Regions from separate parts of the Homo sapiens genome. Here region 1 is linked to region 2. The links are contacts of gene promoters, found by promoter capture Hi-C in human tissues and cell types (Jung and others, 2019). All regions are on one chromosome and are shown on one strand. Each heading gives the region's core, a stretch centred on a gene start or on the middle of the fragment in contact. The rest is flanking DNA. Distances are from core to core; before and after follow the strand shown. Region 1 overlaps ENOX1 (ecto-NOX disulfide-thiol exchanger 1). Region 2 holds the start of SERP2 (stress associated endoplasmic reticulum protein family member 2).

The links. Contacts are between HindIII fragments. The study calls those that stand out against the background at their distance.
Region 1: a contact is called between a fragment that was not itself captured here and the fragment with the promoter of SERP2 in region 2, in 2 of the 25 tissues and cell types used here (aorta and dorsolateral prefrontal cortex).

Annotation. Positions count from the first base shown.
Region 1 is chr13:43,475,163-43,481,552 of GRCh38, forward strand. All of the region lies in intron 3 of ENOX1 (ecto-NOX disulfide-thiol exchanger 1), which reads right to left. Among named protein-coding and RNA genes, the nearest start is that of ENOX1-AS2, 30 kb to the left of the region's middle. The HindIII fragment of the contact is 4,962 bases long and covers 1,213-6,174 here.
Region 2 is chr13:44,368,845-44,375,570 of GRCh38, forward strand. SERP2 (stress associated endoplasmic reticulum protein family member 2) reads left to right here and starts at 4,980. Exons shown (of 3, transcript NM_001010897.3): 1 at 4,980-5,265. The coding sequence starts at 5,182. It overlaps LOC105370297 (a long non-coding RNA gene), which reads right to left and starts at 4,722. Exons shown (of 2, transcript XR_001749858.3): 1 at 4,553-4,722; 2 at 515-4,353. The HindIII fragment of the contact is 4,304 bases long and covers 3,904-6,726 here.

The DNA of each region.
Region 1 (6,390 bases), core at 2,444-4,943, 890 kb before region 2:
AATTTGACCATTAAGAAAATAGTACTACTAATCTCATACTGGGGATATCAGTACCACTACAGAAAAATTCTACTTAAAAACATATGTGAGCTAAAAGTGAAAAGCATTTCCCTGCTGATTCCACATGTCCACAACAGCCTAAGCAGTGTGGAGATGGCCAGCGGAGCAGCAATAGGGAACGTGTGCCAACATTTCTGATAGGAACTCTATTTTCTGAGGATTTAGGCTCAATTATGAAAGTCTGCTGAAAATGAAACTTGGCATAAATACTGTAGCTTAGTAGAATTCCATCAAATACAACAAAAATGAAGATTAAGGAGAGGGAAATCCTATAAACTCAACTTTCAGAAAAGACCAGAGCATTGCTAAGGAAAATCAAAGGAAGTTCTCAATACTTATTAATTAATCTTTTCATAAACGAAATCATATTTGAGAAGTGGTGAGATCATTTACAGCCTAATAATTTCCAGATATGGAAGGGAATAAATAATTTAAAGGGGTAATGATTGAACCTAGGAAGGGCTGTGTCAGTTCTAGAAATAGTGGCTTTTACTCTTGAATTTTTAAAAGTTCCATTTTCTTAGTGGTGGCATTGGCCCAGGCCACAATCATATACAAAAACATAACTGACCAAAAAAAAAAAAAAAAAAAAAGAAAGGCTTTAATCTCTTAGAATAGCAAAACAGAATTTGAGAAGAGCCTAAACTCTAAGATATACAGCTCTTAAAATTTTACCATAAAGGACACTTTTTTAGAGCCCTAAATAAGGTGGGAACCTTAAACACAGACCTTAATTTTAATAACTCTTGGGAATGGATGGTCTCAGTTAACTCTAATCTTATATTTGTTTATAGACCTCAGTTTTCAATTACAGGAGGTCTAAGCATTGAAGTGTTAGAGTGTTTCAATAGATGAAAGATGATTAATAGAAACTTTAATATCTCTCCAAGTCAAATGACCATGTAACCTCTACAAATATTACTGTAATCGCTACAAATATTTGTTACTTTGTTTATTCATTCAGTAATTCAAAAAAAGATTTATTGAGCACATGCTAGGTATAACGCTCCATAAAACAAGCCTAAAATCTACCAAAAATACAAATATGTATTCACTTGAGAATTTCTGATAGCTCTCATTTAGTGAAGGTACCAGACACTAAACAACATTTAACTTGAGATACATCTGGAACCTTTAACAACATACTAAACTTTAAAAAAAAGTGCATATTTTTCTAATGTGGTTCTGAAACAAAGAGACAAAAAGAAATTTTTTATTTGTCTAATGGAAGAGAAAAGGCCTCAAAAACTAGCTGACCTCCCAGATAATGAAGTGTAAAAGAATGTGCAAATGTACTTCAAAAAGTAACTCTCCTGGACACCAACTGAACCCTTAGAAGCTAAAGGCGGGAAATAACCCCTTCTTCCTTCTTTTACTCTCTCTAGTTTGTCTTTGTTCTGTTTCCCTTGTCATTTCCCACTCTTCAGACACAATTATAGTTGATTGAGATATAACGAGTAAAGCTACATTAGAAACTACTCATGGAAAAATCAATAGAAAAGGATAGAGGCACATTCAACAGAAACAACAAAACAGAAGCACTGTTAGGAAGAAGGAAGTGAGAGGTTTTTGTAGCAGAATGTACGGAACAGATATTTCCCAAGTGCCTCTTCTATGGTAGGTGGGACATAGCAGCATCATACAGTCACCTCATATATCCACTGTAAAAGAGGAGATGGGTGGGTGCAGGCAGGTAATTGTCCAGAAAAAGCAACAGACTGGTTCTATTATGAGAAAGTGAACATACTTCATTTGTGGAAAACTATACAACAATTAACCACTATGAATGAAACAGATCTCCATATATTAAGAGAGAGATTCTAAAAAAATAAAAAAAAAATTGAGAAAAAACAAGTTCCAAAGGTATATATTCAGTATGATCCCATCTATGTAAACTTAAAAAATATTGCACATATATATGTGTGTATACATATATATACACATACATATATATATATAGTATACACACATATATATAGAGAGATTAATTATAACTATATATGTGATAAATGGTATAATATACAACAACCTTATTATCATGATAGTACCTCTGGGAAAGGAGAAGTAGATATCTGAAGAACATTTTAAAATTTTTAAATATGGGGGTGAATACATACGCTTTGCTCTTTTCTGTAGGTTTAAGCTACTTGACAATAAAAATTAACATTTTTTTGAAATTTGTTGTCTAAAAAAAGAAAGCTGTAGAAATTGAGACAATTAGAAGGAGCTGTTCTAGTAAGTCTAACTTTCTTATTTCTGAGCTGAGCTGAGAATATACAAGGCTGATTATTTTCCATCTTCAGAAAGAGAAACAATGGAGACTTACTGTAGAAGAAAAGACTATCCTTGCAATGAGAAGTCAGTGGCACTTTTGGCAAATGAATGGTCATTTTCAGGTGGAAGTGAATTATCTGAATGTAGTTATATTGAGTCCTCCAGCTTTAAAAGAATGTTTCAACTCATACACTATTTATTTGAGTTACTCTTTTTTTTCTTTATGGGGTGTGAATATGAGGTTTAAGGGACACAGTTAATAGATGCCAAGTTTTCATTGTTTCTACAAATGTTTATAGAGTCTGGATTTTGGAATAACAATTTGCACACTTACAAGTGTTGATTAGCTGGGCAACATTGCAATTAATATTACTTTTTTAAGCTCCTCGCAAAGACTTCCTTTTCTTTCAAAATTGCCAATAAACATTTTCAAACATAATCCCCAAGGAGCTCATTCACTGGGTGCTGGGGGACTCCAGCAGGAAGGAAACCTACTAACATTTTATTAATTTTGGATCATGTGTAATTCTTAGGATTAATGGCAAGGAGCCAGAGAGGTTTTTTTTTTTTTTTTTTTTTTTTTTCATTTTTTAAATCACAGTGGAAAATAAGCCTGAAACATTTCACTAGTAAGGCAAGAGTCACTTAAGATATATTATTAAATATGAGGGGTAGAAATAAATCACAGACACAAGTGGTATTATACAGTGGGCATTTTTCTGAAAAAACAGACTCCGTGCATGAGGATTAGATATACGCCCACAATAAGAGGGCATATTGATCTATAATTTTCAGTATTACATCCTTGTATTTTTTATTATATGCTATTTTTCAACTAGTAGAGGAACGTGTTCTCATAAAGCTAATATTTATTCTTCCATGTTTATACAGCTAGTAGTGCATTTCAGGAAATGAGAAATTCTGAGAAGCCAAATATAACTTGATGTCGTATGCAAAAAAGAAGACAAGACAGAAAAATCCCCATATTTTAAAAACCTGACTCAGGAACTCACTCATAAAGCTTTAAATAATTAAATAACACAACATAATGAAAGTCTTTTGATATTATTTTTTCTATTCCCATAAATGTAGCCTTTTCATAGATGATACATCTTATCATGTAGTATTCCTCATTTTACTAGAAATCAAAGAAAAGGACCCTTTAGTCCAGTTCTCATTTTCAACACTGTACTCACTGTGTGTATTTTGTGGAAGCTGAGGCAGATACTCACTGTAATCCCACTATAAAAATTGAGATACCCCTACTGGAAACTGTATTGTTAATTCATGAATTCTTCTCATTTTATTATTAAGTAACCTGTGTACTGGGGAATTCAATGATTTCTTAAACCCAAAGAAAATAGTAGTGAATGATAATTTGGTTTTTCATGGAGAGGCTGTATTCATATTATATTACGGTAAAAGCCTCAAGAGGTCAGAGCCATTTCGGGGGAGAAATTCCCCAAGCCTTTGGAGGAGAAACTCCCCAAAGGTCAATTGTTTCTATGTCCTCTCCTTTTAGTTTATAACTTTACTTGAGCCCTTGGAGAAATCAGGAGAAACAGAAGTTGTCAAGTCATTTCCCCATACTCCGCATGCATAAAGATGGAACTGGGTGTTGGCAACAGTAAGTAAGTGAGGCAGAAGGCAGAAGTGTTGAGGGGGATGGCAGGAGGTGAGGCCAAGGATGTTGGGACTAAAGGGAGAGAGCAGTTAGGCTGTAATCAAGGGTTCTTTGAGCTCCCCACAAACCGATCCTTGATTTTCTGAGGAAGCTTGTGGCCTAGAGCAGACAGCTGAAACTATGGTGCTTGGTGAAAAGCAAGTGAAAAAAACAACTACTACTTTATTACTTACCTTTTCCCAGTCATCTTGCAGATTTCAGATTTTCTACCCTTTCCGTTCTCAGTAACTGACCGGCCACCTTTGTGGCATCAGCCCCACCACTTCTCCTGAGGTCCAAGCCTGTCTCCATCTCCATATCCAACAGCTGTCCTCTCTCTGCCATTTTCCTGTACTGAGTTCTAATATTATCTTTCCCTCATCCATGTTCCTATATCAAGAAAAATGATCTCCTTTAAACACCAAACCAGAATTTCTCGTTCTTCGAAAGAGTCTATCCATCCATTTATGTATGTTAGTGTATTTCTAGGCAGCTAAAAAATAAATGTAATCTCAGAGTAGAAGTGCAATAGAATGGAAAGAGAATGGTACCCGGAGTTAGAAAAAGGGGGCTACACCCAGCTCCATCTTTCTGCCCATTTGGGCACTGTCAGCTCTAAGTGAAGTTTCTGTAGTCTGGGCAGTTGCAGACCTCCACTGCTGGACAAGGGAAAGAAGGTTTGAGTCTGGTTATTACAATAACTGGGGTTGGGGGAGATGTTGGCTTTTGGTTCCTGAGAACCGTGGTTACTAAACATTCTTTTATTTATTTTTATTTTTATTTTTTTTTTTTTGAGACAGAGCTGTTCTCTTGCTGCCCAGGCTGGAGTGCAATGGCGTGATCTTGGCTCACTGCAACCTCCACCTCCCGGGTTCAAGCCATTTTCCTGCCATAGCCTCCTGAAGTAGCTGGGATTACAGGCACCCACGACCATGCCCAGCTAATTTTTTTGTATTTTTAGTTGAGATGGGATTTCACCATGTTGGCCAGGCTGGCCTTGAACTCCTGACCTCAGGTGATCCACCCGCCTCGGCCTCCCAAAGTGCTTCAATTCTAGGCATGAGCCACTGCACCTGGCTGGTTACTAAACATTCTAAACATGCATGGGACAACCTTGCATCACAAAGAACTGTCCCACTTAAAATGCCAATACTGCCCTGATGAAGAAACATCAATAGATGATTTTCAATGTTCCTTCAACCTATTTGGCCTCTAAAACTTAAGTGAAATGTAGGGAACTTAAGAGACTCAGGAAAGAACTGTGAGGATAATTAAAATTTTGGATTATGCAGATTTATAGGAAAAGTTTTAAAAATGGGCTTATCTCTCCCAAAGAGAAAAAGGATGATTTAAAAACTGAGACTAGGATGATACAGGGGAAGTCTGACCAATAAATTTTCTTTTTCAATGGAAGCAGAAATAAATTAACATGATATGAGCTCAGAAATTACATTGGCTTTCTTGAGAAAGACTTGAAATCATAAATGAAAGAGGAGACATTACAACTGATATCACTGATATCACAGAAATAAAAAGGATTATGAGAGACTACAAGGAACAATGATATGCCAACCAGTTAGATAACCTAGATGAAACAGATACATTTCTAGAAACACACAACCTACCAAGACTAAATAGAGAAAAAATAGAAAGCCTAAACAGACCCATAACTAGTAAGGAGATTGAGTCAGTAGTTAGCAATCTTCCAACAAAGAAAAGTCCTATATCAGATAGCTTCACCAGATCATTCTACCAAACATTTAAAGAACTAATGCTAATCCTTCTCAAACTCTTCTAAAAAATTGAAAAGGATGGAACATTTCCTAACTCATTTTATAAAGCCAGCATAAGCCTGATACCAAAGTCAACCATGCCACAAGAAAACTACAGGCCAATATCCCTGATGAATGTAAGTGCAAAAATTCTCAACAAAATACTAGCAACTTTTTGCTAGCAACAAATACTAGCAAACCAAATTCAACAGCAGTATGCAGTATGCTGTTGAATTTGGAAGCCTCATACTTCCCGATGTCGAAATGTAACAACAAACTCTCTATATATTATATACAGAGTTTCAGTCATGCAAGATGAAAAAATTGTAATATATAAAGCTACAATAGTCAGAATGGCATGGTACTGACATAAAGGCAGATATATGGACCAATGGAAGAGGATAGAGAGTCCAGAAATAAACCCATATATATATGGGATCAAATTATATTCAACAAGGGTTCCAAGACTCCACAAAAGTGTAAGAACTTATTCTTCAATAAATTGTGCTGGGAAAACTGTATATCCACATGCCACAGAATAAAACTGGATCCTTATTTTATACCAGACACCAAAACCAACCCAAAATGAATTAAAGAATTAAATATAAGATTTGAAACTAC
Region 2 (6,726 bases), core at 3,730-6,229:
CATAATCTAGTGCATTGAGTTGACTCCAATGCATGTGGCAGATAACATTTGCTATCAGCTTTCTTGATTTTCTCTGCCCACTATTGAGACAACTTCATGAACATTTCCACCAGAATGTAAGTAACATGTATAAAAGGAGATGACCTGAGATTTGCCAAATTTTCCTCTTTTCTAGCCGTACTGAAAATGGTTTGGAAAAAGAAGAAAGTATTCATTTGAAGTGTCGGTTATCTGCTGGTTTTATTTACACAGGGTGTGCCTGTCAACCACTCCCATCCATAATTGAGACCAGCCACCCACAGCACCTGTCGTCAAGGCCTCTATACTCAGTTCCCCTTAGTGAGATAAGGTGAAGAGAGACCACTAGCTAACAATGTGTGAAAGCTTCAAGTGACATGACAGTCACTCCAGATCTGGAAGGGGAAATGACAAAGGAAGACATTCTGGTTTTTTGTTTGTTTTCATGTACATGAGTCAGGGTTCTTGGTTGTAAATAAGACAAACTCACTCTGGCTGATTGAAGCGGAAGAATTTATTGTAAGGATTTCAGGTACCACGGAATAAAAAGGATACTGTCACTGGTTCCACCATGATTGCTAGGTACTACCAGTCTCTAGAAACTCGACCACCAAGATGAATTTTAACGTGTCTCTGTCTTTGCACCACTTGATCAAGATTCACAGTTCCCAAAAGGAGAATCTCATTGGCCAGATCACACGCCACCCTAGCTGTGAGGGGTTGGGAGACCAAGTATGTGGCCCCCTTATGCTCCACGGTGGGAAAGAAGGTCCTAAGACTCTCACAGTGATGGAGTGCCCCAAATATAAAGAATGTTTGCATGCTGGTCAGCCACAGAAAAATGAGAGATGTCCAATGCATCACAGTTTAGTAGTGTAGCATCATTTATAAAGATGGGTAAAACTCAGTCTGTACAGCCACACATCCAGTGCCCTAAGTGGGGCAGATTTATGATTAATGGGCATAGGCTTGTTAGGATTTCTTGCTCTAAAGGCTGAAAATTGGCTGGGCATGGTGGCTCACACCTGTAATCCCTGCATTTTGGGAGGCTGAGGTGGGCAGATCACTTGAGGACAGGAATTCAAGACCACCCTGGCCAATATGGTGAAACCCCGTCTCTGCTAAAAATATAAAAAGCCAGGCGTGGTGGTGCATGCCTGTAATCCCAGCTACTCAGGAGGCTAAGGCAGGAGGATCACTTGAACCCGGGAGGCAGAGGTTGCAGTGAGCCAAGATTGCGCCACTGCACCCCTACCTGGGCGACAGAGTGAGACTCTGTCTCAAAAATAAAAATAAAGGCTGAAAATTTTACCAGCCAAAATTAAATTTTAACCAGTTAGCAGTTTCCTGGCACTTTGCCCATAACAATTTTAAAAGTTGTGGTTGAGCACTGCATGCTAGTGGTATATTACAAAACTCCATGCTGCCACCATAGATGAACCCAGGAGAAGTTCTCCTTAATCAAGTTTCCATTTTCCCCTCCTAAGTCCTCGAAAGAGCAAGACGACTCCATGCTTTGCTCCTTCGTAGTCTAGTAGTGACTCTGGAACTCCAGGAACACAGCTTATAGACTTTAGCCCCAGCTCCCCACATAAGGGTCTGGAGGCTGAGTATAAGAAGGGCCAGGATCCATGCTGGGAAACTGCTTGGTCCATGATGGTGATCCTCAAGGCAATAAACAGGACTGAGACCTGCAGAGGAGCTGGCCTGACTGCAGAGGACAAAAGCAGGGGTGTGAGCAGGTAAAGTGGAGGTCACAGCACGAGGTTTCTTCATCCAACCAAGGACATAAAAAGTTGCAGCAATTTCACTTCCAGGAATCTAATTCCAGTGTTGTGATATAGGAGAAACCAAAGTGTTGTCTCCCACTCTCACACAGCCAGCACACTTTTAACACTAGATGTGTGGGGGATGTTTCCCCTCATACCAAGCAATTCTGCAACAGACACCGGCTGGGTGTCCTTTAATTCAATTCAATTCTGGCACTATGTACCTGGAAATAGCAGGGGCTCAGGGTTTGATCCTATGAGACCGCCCCCCATTTCAGATGCCAATCCCAGGTAGTAGGTTGTCTCCTGTACCTCTGCCTGCCCAGCTATAAACTGGAGTTCCCCCAACCCACTCCTTGTTTGGACTAATCTGCTAGAGTGGATCACAGAACTCAGTGAAACACTTTACTTCTGTTTGCTCATTTATGAGGAAGGATATTACAAAGCATATAGATGAACAGTGAGATGGAAGAGATGCACAGGGCAAGAAATGTGGGAAGGGCTGTGGCGCTTCCATATCCTCTCTGAGCACGCCACCCTCTAGGAACCTGATGTTCTGCTCTCCAGAACTCAACAAACCCTATCCTTTGGGCTTTTATACAGGCTTCATTGCATATGTCTGATTGATTACATCATTGGTCACTGGTGATCAACTTAACTTTCAGCCCCTCTCCTCTCTGTGGAGGTCTGGGGGGACAGGGTGGGACTAAAAGTCCCAACCCTCTAATCCTGCCTTGATCTTTCTGGTGACCAGTCCCCATCCTGAAGCTATCTAGGGTCTCCAAGTCACCAACCATCTCATTAGCATACAAAAGGTAAGATATTTTCATCACTCTGGAGAGTCCAAGGAATTTAAGAGTTTTAGGTCAGGAAACAGGGACTACAATCAAATATATATTTCACAATATCACACGCAGATATACCTGCACAAGTACACACTGATCTATGTACAGGGATATTCACTGAAGCATTGTTGGCAACCACAAAAAAAGAAAAACTGGAAATAATCATCCATGGTTACATCAGTTCAATATATTACTGTATAATCATACTATGAGACATAACACAACTACAAGAAAGAGGTCATATATAAGTGATATGATAATGTTGATATATTAAGTTAGAAGAGCACGTGGCAGAACAGTTTGCATACTACTATTCCGTTTTTTTTTAGAAGGGAATATACAAATAGTCTTGTATATACTGGAAGGGCAACCCAGGAACCGTGGGAACTTTTTGGGGAGGGTGGCAAGGAAAGAGAGACCTTTACTTTTCATTTTCTATCCTATTTCTGTTTGACTATTTACTGTGTAGATGTAGTCTACTCATAATTAAAACAAACTAATTTAAAATGCCGGAAAAGTGAAGCATAGCAGGAAAAAGGAGTCAACAGTAAAGAAAAATTTTCCCCAAAAGGGGCTTCTCTCAGTTAAGAACACTTCTGAACTGTACTCACTGAATGTGAAGACCCAAAGAGAAAACAGTCTCTGTCTGTGTCTTTTCCTTAATGTCGCTCAGAGCCAGACCTCTACTCACCTGGTGAGGACCTGGGTCAGTCTCCTGGTATTTGGACATGATCTGAGAGGAGTGAGTCAGGTAAAGGAACCTTCTGGACCACAGACAACAGCCAGGCTCAGCAGGGATCACTGAGGTAGGAATCCCCCCACCCAAACCCCTAAAAAAGAGCCAACAGTTATTAAAAACATGGGACTAGAGTGGGGCAGACTGGGTTTATGGTCCTGTTACAACAGTGGTGATGCTAACAGTTAAAAGACCATAGAAGCTTGTTTCAAATTAATTGGCCTGTAGAGTAGGAAAAAAAAAAAATGACTCTACTAATGATCCTAGGCAATTCTGTCTTCTAGGTTACAGCAAGCAGCCCCCAGAATGGCCTTTATTGAAGCCTGAGTGACAAGAAGCCTGTAGCGGGGTGAGGGGGACCCGCTTGGAAAAAGGCCCCAAAAGAGGAGCTCTTCCTAACTCTCCAATGACATGGGAAAATTTTACTCACACAAAATTCCCTGGAAACCCAGCCACCTCCCGCTCCAAGAGAAGGCCTAGAGATGCAGTGGCCAGAGACAGCCTCAGGCCTTCTTCCCCATGCTGGGGGTGCTGCTGCTTGCCTTCACCCCGACCCGGTATCCCCACTTCCCGCTGCCCCAGATCTCCCAGGCTGAATGTCCCCTCTTCGCCTCCACTCTTCTGAGCTTCTAAGAGCTAACTCCAAGTGAGGAACTGAACCCCTTCCACCCCTACCTCCCCAGGCAATCTGTAGAGCTCTTGAGCCCTAATACCAGTGTCTGGGAGGCGCGTAAACGCTTCCATTTTTATCCTTCCACTGCAGAAAATGCCCAGTTTAGTCTGGGAGACACTCAGACCCCTCGGGACAAGGGTGGCTAGAGAGAGGTCCAAGCTGCCCTGGGTGGGTGGGGAGTCAAGGCAGGCCAAAGCTTCAGATTTAGACAGTAACCACCAAATCCGACCTGGGCTGCAGGTCCAAGGCCTCTTCCTCTTTCCTGCATGCTCCGCTCTGCCGCTGGCCCATCTTCCAATGCAACCCCTACAACTACCAAAGCAAAAAGGCCTGTCCCAACTCCATCCTCACGGCCCGATCCCCAACCCTCAGGGGATGCCGCTTCGTGTCTCCTCTTTATTTTACAACGCGGCCCTCCTTGCAGCCCTCACGAAAAGTTCTGCAGTGGGGTCCCCCAGCGTGGGGCCCTTCTCGAGACCCTTAAAGAGAAGGCTCGTTTGGTGGACCATACCCGGGCAGCGCGGGCCCGGGCCTGGACTGGTTCTACTTGTGTTCTGAGGTCCCTGACCACCGCCTTGGGTCCAGCCCTCGTCCAGGGGGCGGCGGTGCAGGGGAGACCGCGCGGCCCGGCCTGAAGCGCGGCCGCCCTCATCCCTTCCCCGGGGCTGGGGTGGGTCACCGGCCGACAAACACAGGAGGGGCCGCGTCCCCGTCCCCGACGCGCTCACAAACGCCGTGGTCGCCCGAACCTTCGGCCCCGCAGCATTCGGCTACAGGACCGCGACACTGCAGGGCCCCGGCTCTGCGCGCTGCGCTCCGGCCGCTCGGCGCGGGAGGACGTGCGGTCGCGCCTGCCTCGGTGGCCGCGCGGGGTAGGTGGCTGCGGGGACCGGAAGGATGGCGAGGAAGTCGGAAAGGGTTTCCTGAGATGAGAGATTACTTCCGTCCGGGCTGCGGCCTCTCTCTGGAGTCGGCTAGCCGGGGCTCGGGGAGCGGGGTGCGCAGGGCTCGGGGCCACGCCTTGCCACCTGCAGCGCCCGGGTGGGCCGCGGGGGCCTCGGCGGGACGCGCTCGGCCCTGTCGCAGGAGCTAACGCAGGGGGAATCCTTGCAGGTGGGAGCATTTCAGAGCGCACAAGCCATGGTGGCCAAACAGCGGATCCGGATGGCTAACGAGAAGCACAGCAAAAACATCACCCAGAGGGGGAACGTAGCCAAAACCCTGGTAAGGCGGGGTCGGCGCCGGCCAGGCAGAGCCCTGCAGCCCGGCGGGGTGGGGCGGAAGGTGGGGGCGGGGCCGGGCGGGTAGCGGCGCAGGGTCCGGCCTCCCGGCTCCCGGCCCGCCCCTTCTGCGGGGTCCTGCAGAGTGGGGGCTGAGAGCTGGGTTCAGGGCGGCGCGGTCTGCTTGGCGTCCTCGTGGGCGGAGAGGGCCCTGGTTGGTCGTGGCCCCTCTGGGAGTGGCTACCTGGGCTACCAGGGAGGCGCAGAGGAGCCCTCCTCCCCGACCCGCACCCCCTGTCCCCCTGCCCGGGAGACAGCTGGGCCTTGTCCCGGAGAAAGACGGAAAGCCTCATCCTTAGGGGCCAGTTAAGTCAACTGCATGACACAGAGCCTGGAACCTAGTATGTTCTAGAACGTTGCATGACACAGAGCCTGGAACCTAGTATGTTCTAGAACGTTTGTTGAATGAATGAATGAATCAATGGCTAAATGGAGGCCACTTGTCATCTCCTCCCGGACTCCACCTGTCTTCCCTCCCCAACAGACTTGCACCAGGATCAAGTTTTCTTTCCAGCCCCTTTGTGACGGTTTCACTGGAGGTGTGGAAAGAGCTCAAAATGGGGAGTGAGATTTGGACCCACATTCCCTCCAGCCTCTTTTTTCTCTTTTACCTCTCTTCCAGCGAGACCTCCCTCAGCCCCTAGGCTAAAGTCTAAGGGCAGCATTCCTATTCTTTCCACTTGGTGAATTCAGACTCATTCTCATGGTATAACTTTAGAGACCAGTTTATTGTCAGGCATTCGGTGTCCCTAGAACTGTAAATTCAAGCTTTGCAACTGGACTTTTAAGTAAAACCTGTGCCTTACACTCAGGAGTTTCTTTTAGCAAAGCAGATTATCATCAACAGAAAATGCGAGGCCTGTGACTTTGGACATTCAGAGGCATGAGTCGCATGGGTAGTTTGGCGAAGTTGGTCTCCAAGTATATGAGCAAAGGCGCCTGGGATCTGTTACCCCGTACAGTTAAGTGGAAATCCAGCTGAAGCCTGGAGTTTGGCTGGGAAAGCTTGCAGATTTGATGAATCAATTCCTTTTAGCCAAAGAAACTATATTGGTTTGATTAACTAAGCAAAAAGCTAGATCTGTAATCATCACACCAGAATTCTTGCAAAACCAAGCAGTATTACGGCAGAGAAACTCTAGGACCAAACTCAACTCTACTCAGAGCTTTATACACAAGTCTAAGCATAACTCAACTCTACTCAGAGCTTTATACACAAGACCTAAGTAATCCTTAAAATTCTCTCATTTAGGAATTATATCACTCAGTTGTGATTAGGCAGCAAAATGCCAAGATGCCATCAAATTGGAACCATTTTGTCACATTGATTTATGTTTTCCCTATTTTTACTGAGGAAAAAAAAATGGCTGCCCGGGTTGACATTGAGAAGCAACTTATAATTGAT